2 separate regions of the Homo sapiens genome follow, and region 1 is linked to region 2. Evidence: promoter capture Hi-C in human tissues and cell types (Jung and others, 2019). All regions are on one chromosome and are shown on one strand. The core of a region is centred on a gene start or on the middle of the fragment in contact, and the rest is flanking DNA. Distances in the headings are between cores, read along the strand shown. Region 1 overlaps LOC105370943 (a long non-coding RNA gene). Region 2 holds the start of SPINT1 (serine peptidase inhibitor, Kunitz type 1).

Region 1 (2,700 bases), core at 196-2,695, 65 kb before region 2:
TTGACTGTTCAGAGGATGCCGGGGAGGGAAGGAGGCTCTGTCTGCTGTTCCTGCTTCACCTGCTGGGGCCTGGGACAGGGAGCTAGTCGGGAAGGACACCTGGGAGGATGTCTGGAGTCGGGGCACTTGCAAGCGTCCTGCCGGCTGTGGCCAAGGATCCACACTGGCTCACATGGAGAGCGGCCCAGTGGAGGCTCCAGCTGGTCCGCACTGAGAGCATGGGGAAGGATGAGCTGGAAGCTGGGGGTTTGGGGTATCTCTGAGTTCCAGCCTTAGAGGGAAAGACCAGGAACAAAAGGTAAAAGAGAGAACATCTGCCTGGTATTCTGGTCGGCAGCAGGCCCAAGGGGTCAAAGGTCAAGGGGAGGACAAGGGGGACTTCCTGAAGCTCCCGGGAGAGTGCCAGCCAGGCCGACTGTTGTGCAAGTTCTGGGCTGGCCTGCGAGGGCAGGCTGGCAGAGGAGTCATGCCTGATCAGCGGCCAGCATGGTGTCTGCCCAGCCCTCTTGGCCTGTCCTATGAGACTCCTGGAGCTGGAGTAGTGCCCTGTCTCCTTTCCTTCAGGGAACCAGGACCCCCATCCCAAGGAAGCACTCTTGTCCCACCTGTGGCCATATTCTACATGCCTGTGGGCTTCCTCTCATTCTCATCCTGAACCTCTTTTCCTTAGAATCGCCATTGTTCAAGAAACCAGAAAAACCTACTCAAGCAAGCTTCTTTCTTCCAATTCCACTCTGATATCTGAAGAAGTCAGAGGGCCTTGTGAGGGATGAGCTGGGACAGGTCTCAGGGTCCTACGCCTACAGAAAGGAGGTGCAGAGTAAAAGGGAAGAGGGGCAAGTGCCCAGGGCTGCTTGGGCGCCAGGCCCTGGGCTACCTTGACAGATGGGCGGCACCGCTCTCATTTCAGCCTCACAAGAGCCTTTCCAGGTCTGTAACAGTTATTCACATTTTACAGGAGAAGAAATTGAGTTTCCAAGGGCTTGATTAGCCTGATGCTGGTAATGGCAGAGCAGAGACTTGCACTTGCTCTTTACAGATTATGTCCTTGTTCCTCGGTTCAACCCATTTTGGCTGGAGATGGAAAATGAGTATAAAGAAGGACCTAGGATGGTGCCCTGCTCACGACCAGCATGGGAACACAGTTAATCAAGGCTGAATCTCACGGACAGGGGCAGGATCCAGGATGGAGCCTCCTGTTAGCTACCAATTTGTCTTCTGCAATTCAGCAGCTGTAAAGTCAGGAGGTGGGATCAGCAGCACAATGTCTTTCAAACTCGGTTCCTGGGCATCCTGGCATCTTATGGATATCGTGATAGGGGGCCGGGCACAGTGGCTCATGCCTGTAATCCGGACACCCTAGGAGGCTGAGGTGGGAGGACTGCTTGAAGTCAGGAGTTCAAGACCAGCCTTGGCAACCTAGCAAGACCCCCGTCACTACAAAAAATAGAAATAAAAATTAGCCAGGTGTGGTGTCTGTAGTCCTTGCTACTCAGGAGCCTGGGGTGGGAGGATCACTTGAGATCAGGAATTAAAGGCTGCAGTGAGCTATGATGGCGCCACTGCACTCCAGCCTAGGCAATAGAACAAGGTGTTGTTTCTATTAAAAAAAAAAAAAAAAAACAGAGAGAGAGACATTGAGATAGGAGTGGAGAACAGGCTGAGTGAACAGGAGTGTGGGTCCCTCCAGCCCAGTTTCCATCGGAGAATCTCAGCATACCAATTTCAAGTACTGGACATTCATGAATGTTTTTATTTGAACAAGGCTTCCACAGCACTTTATAGTCTCTATCTGAGGTCTCTGCAGCTCTGGCCTGCTGGGAGTTGTGAACGGTTTAGGTCCTGGCCTGGGAAGAGAAACCAGAGGACCTGGTAAAGGAAGTAGGGTTCACCTTCTAGCCCTGTGGAGATGCCGCGAGGGAACAGGTCAAGGGTCAGAGCTGGGAGATCATGCCATGGAGGGAAGGTGAGCTGCAGCCACCTGCCTCTGCACCTGGCAAACACAAACAGACCTTTGGCCACAGCAGCCTGGGAACCAGAAGCAGCAGCCACCTTCCGGGGGGCCAGACCAGTGCCCCTTTCCCTTTTCTCTGCCCAAGCTTATTCTCAGTGGACATGGGTTGCTGGCCACCAAACTAAGGCCGCGCAGCCTCTCCTGACCTCACGGTATGGTTTCTGACTGCTCAGTAAGGGCTGGTTCAAGGTGAAAGCTGAGCCACGGTAAAGCTGCTCAGGGAGAGGAAAGCACCCAATTACTGGGCATTCAGAGAGTGGGGCCAATCCCCTTGAAATGACAACCCTATTTTGTGACCCTTTTATTGGCCATCCTGGACCAAAGTTTGCCCCTCTGCCTCAGTTTTCCTTTTGGGAATCCAGGCATGAGAATGGTGGCCCTCTCCTGGTGGCTTCAGCACGTATGGCTCCCTGAATATCATCTCCATGCTCCAGGTGGAGGAGAAAGCTGAGGGCTCCAGCTGCCCAAGCACCAGAACTTTCTAGCATCCTCCTATCCCAGTGCCCGCCCCAGGCCTGCCTCTGACCACCATTCACCCTCAACCTGCTGCAGGGCCCAGCCTCACCCCACATAAGCAAAGCTGCCAGCAGCGTCCTTTGTGGTGCTGCTCCCGTGTGGCACTGCCTAGGGGCCCCACCATGGGGCAACAGATGGACCTATGGTCTCTCCAGAACAATGGTGGGGGA
Region 2 (2,700 bases), core at 9-2,508:
GTAGCGGGTGCCTGTAGTTCCAGCTACTCCGGAGGCTGAGACAGAAGAATCACTTGAACGTGGAAGACGGAGGTTGCAGTGAGCAACCAGAGATTGCGCCATTGCACTCCAGCCTGGGCGACAAGAGCGAGACTCCGTCGCAAAAAAAAAGAAAGAAAAAGAAAAAAAAAAGTGAACTCTCCTTAACTCCTCTCTGATGTTCGTCTCCCCTAGGACCCCATAACCAGTCCCTTTTTTGAGTCTCTCCAAACCCATCCATCTTGGCACCCTCCTCACCTCCAAAGCCCTGGGTCCGCAGCTGGCGGTAGGAGCGGTACACTTCCCTCGTGAGGTAGTTGATGAAGCCCTCCCTGGGCGCGAACTTGCACACGAAGTTCTGCTCGTAGAGGCAGTTGATGAGGAAGCAGGCGGCGATGGCGTCCTCCCCGCGGTCGGGCTGCAGCTCCACTAGCGCCAAGTTGCAGTTCTGGGTGGTGCAGCAGGCGCGCACGCAGTCCCAGCCCCGGCGCACGGTGGGGGACTCCAGGAAGGTAGCTCCGTTGCTGACCGAGGCGTTGGTGTCCAGCACGAAGCCAGGCACCCCGGCGGTAAAGCTGTTCAGGCAGTCGGCTCCCGCGGGCAGCCCAGGGGGCGCGGGCGGTGGCCCGGCCTGGGTGCCCTGGAGGCCGAGCGTGCACAGAAGCCACAAGGCGACGGCAGGGATGCCGGCCGGGGCGAGGCGGGCGCGGGCCATCGTCCTCGCAGGGGCCATCGCCTTCCTCCCCAGGGGGGTCACCTTCAGAGCGCGGGCCTCTGGGTTCCGAGGGTGCTGGTGACCTGAGAAGAAGGGAGGGGACAGAGGAGGAGACACACCTGATCAGCCCGGGAGACTTTGGAGGAGGCGGGCCGGCCGGGAGGAAGTGGCGGGGAGGAGGGACCGGAGCACCCCAGGATCGAAGAGGGCGCACGGGCCCGGCCCTCCCACGCGCCCTCCAGGGACCCGGCAGCCAGACAGACGGACAGGCGGACCGCTAGGGAGCTCAAGTACCCGGACACACGCACGAGCGCAGAACAAAGGGCCGGACATGCTCCAGCCCGCTCCGCCTGCGCCTCGGCCTTGCGCGCGGGGGCCCGGGTTACCTGCGCAGGTGAGTTGGGTGGGGCCGGGTCCGCCGAGGTTCCGGTCCCAGCTTCCTGCGCGGCTCGGGTCGCGGCTTCCGACCCGGTGCTCGGAGAGCTGGGGCTCGGCCGCCTTCTCCCCCTGGTTTCTGGTGAAACTGAGTCAGCGCCGTCGGGGCGGGGCCGACATTCACCCTTGCGCTGCCGGCCCCGCCCACGCCCGGTGCGCTGCGGCCGCCTCTAGCGCGGAGCTCCAGGCCCGGCCCGCCCCGCGGCCCCGCAGCCCCGGTGCCTCCCCGGCAGCCAGCTCCCCGGAGGGGCTCTCGGGCTCCACCCAGTCCAGCCTCGCGAGGGAGCCCCGCGCCCGAAGCGCATACCCAGCCGGGAGGGGATGCGGCCGGGACGCGAGGGTCCGGCCTCTGGGGCGGCGGCCTCCAGTCTTCCTTTCCGGCCGGGGCCTGCTTTCCCAGCCCCAGACCTGAGGCCCGATGCAAATGATCTTTCCGGCCCTCAGGAAATCATTTCCATTTCGTGGCGGGAAGGTAACCCAAAAGTTGCGTGGCTGCACCTGTGATAACAGGGATCCGGGATGTCTGCCTCACTGTCAGCTCCGGGAAGCCCTCCCTGCTGTCAGGGTGAGAAACGGAGGCGATTCCCCGCGTCCAGGCTCCCCTGCGTGCTCCACGGGGCTTCCCTGTTGTTCGAGGCCCCTCCTCATCTTGTATGTACAGTTCGGTCCATTCCCTGCTATGGCTCATTGGACTGTTGCCCCCTTCCCTGGAGCCCAGGCTTCCTCTCTTTCACAAAGGGGACGCTGCTGGCTACTTTCTTCCAGGGAAATGTCATCCTTGGAAGCCTGGAGGTTCCAGTTCACCAAGTAGCTGAGTTAATGCCCTTCACGAAACAGTGGACTCCTTGAAGCCAAGCTCATTGCTCCTCCTGAGTAAAAAACTCTTAAGAGACCATTCTCTACGGCAAGGGTCTGAACAGGTGAAAGACAGATGAAGGCAGGGCTGGAGGAAGGAATCACATAGCATGCTCTCTTAAAATACAGATTCCAAACCTTTTCCTGATGGCTTAACAACCCCCAAACCAATGGGAACATTCTTCCCAGTTTCTCATCCAGAGCAGCTTTGCCTAGCAGATCCTGTGGCCAACCCTTGGATTTTGCTGAACTGCAACATCCTCCAGCTGCTCACATGATGCGTGTTGGGGTGGGAATCTGGGGCCTGTCTCCCCTTCTCTGGATGTTTAGGGTTTATCCACAGACCCTGGCACACTGGTGGATATACAACAATGGTGGTATGCTGGGAATGAAGAAAATGATTGTGCAGTCACTGGGAAGAAAGGGTTTTGTTGTGATTTGATTTCCCCTTATGGCTAACACATTCAAGAATCTTTATTTATTTATTTATTTATTTTTTTTTTTTTTTTTTTGAGACGGAGTCTTGCTCTGTCACCCAGGCTGGAGTGCAATGGCACGATCTCGGCTCACTGCAACCTCTGCCTTCCAGATTCAGGAAATTCTGCCTCAGCCTCCCAAGTAGCTGGGCTTACAGGTGGGCACCACCACGCCGAGCTAATTTTTGTATTTTTAGTAGA

The links. Contacts are between HindIII fragments. The study calls those that stand out against the background at their distance.
Region 1: a contact is called between a fragment that was not itself captured here and the fragment with the promoter of SPINT1 in region 2, in 4 of the 25 tissues and cell types used here (lymphoblastoid cells, ovary, spleen and 1 more).

What each region holds. Positions count from the first base shown.
Region 1 is chr15:40,907,566-40,910,265 of GRCh38, reverse strand. LOC105370943 (a long non-coding RNA gene) reads right to left here. Exons shown (of 2, transcript NR_135836.1): 2 at 915-1,437. Among named protein-coding and RNA genes, the nearest start is that of VPS18, 14 kb to the right of the region's middle. RefSeq lists an enhancer at 2,482-2,611. The HindIII fragment of the contact is 3,580 bases long and covers 1-2,700 here.
Region 2 is chr15:40,842,606-40,845,305 of GRCh38, reverse strand. SPINT1 (serine peptidase inhibitor, Kunitz type 1) reads right to left here and starts at 1,258. Exons shown (of 11, transcript NM_003710.4): 1 at 1,120-1,258; 2 at 277-816. The coding sequence starts at 751. SPINT1-AS1 (SPINT1 antisense RNA 1) reads left to right here and starts at 782. Exons shown (of 2, transcript NR_146468.1): 1 at 782-1,127. RefSeq lists silencers at 577-816, 1,107-1,166, 1,247-1,476, 1,638-1,820 and an enhancer at 1,114-1,685. The HindIII fragment of the contact is 27,771 bases long and covers 1-2,700 here.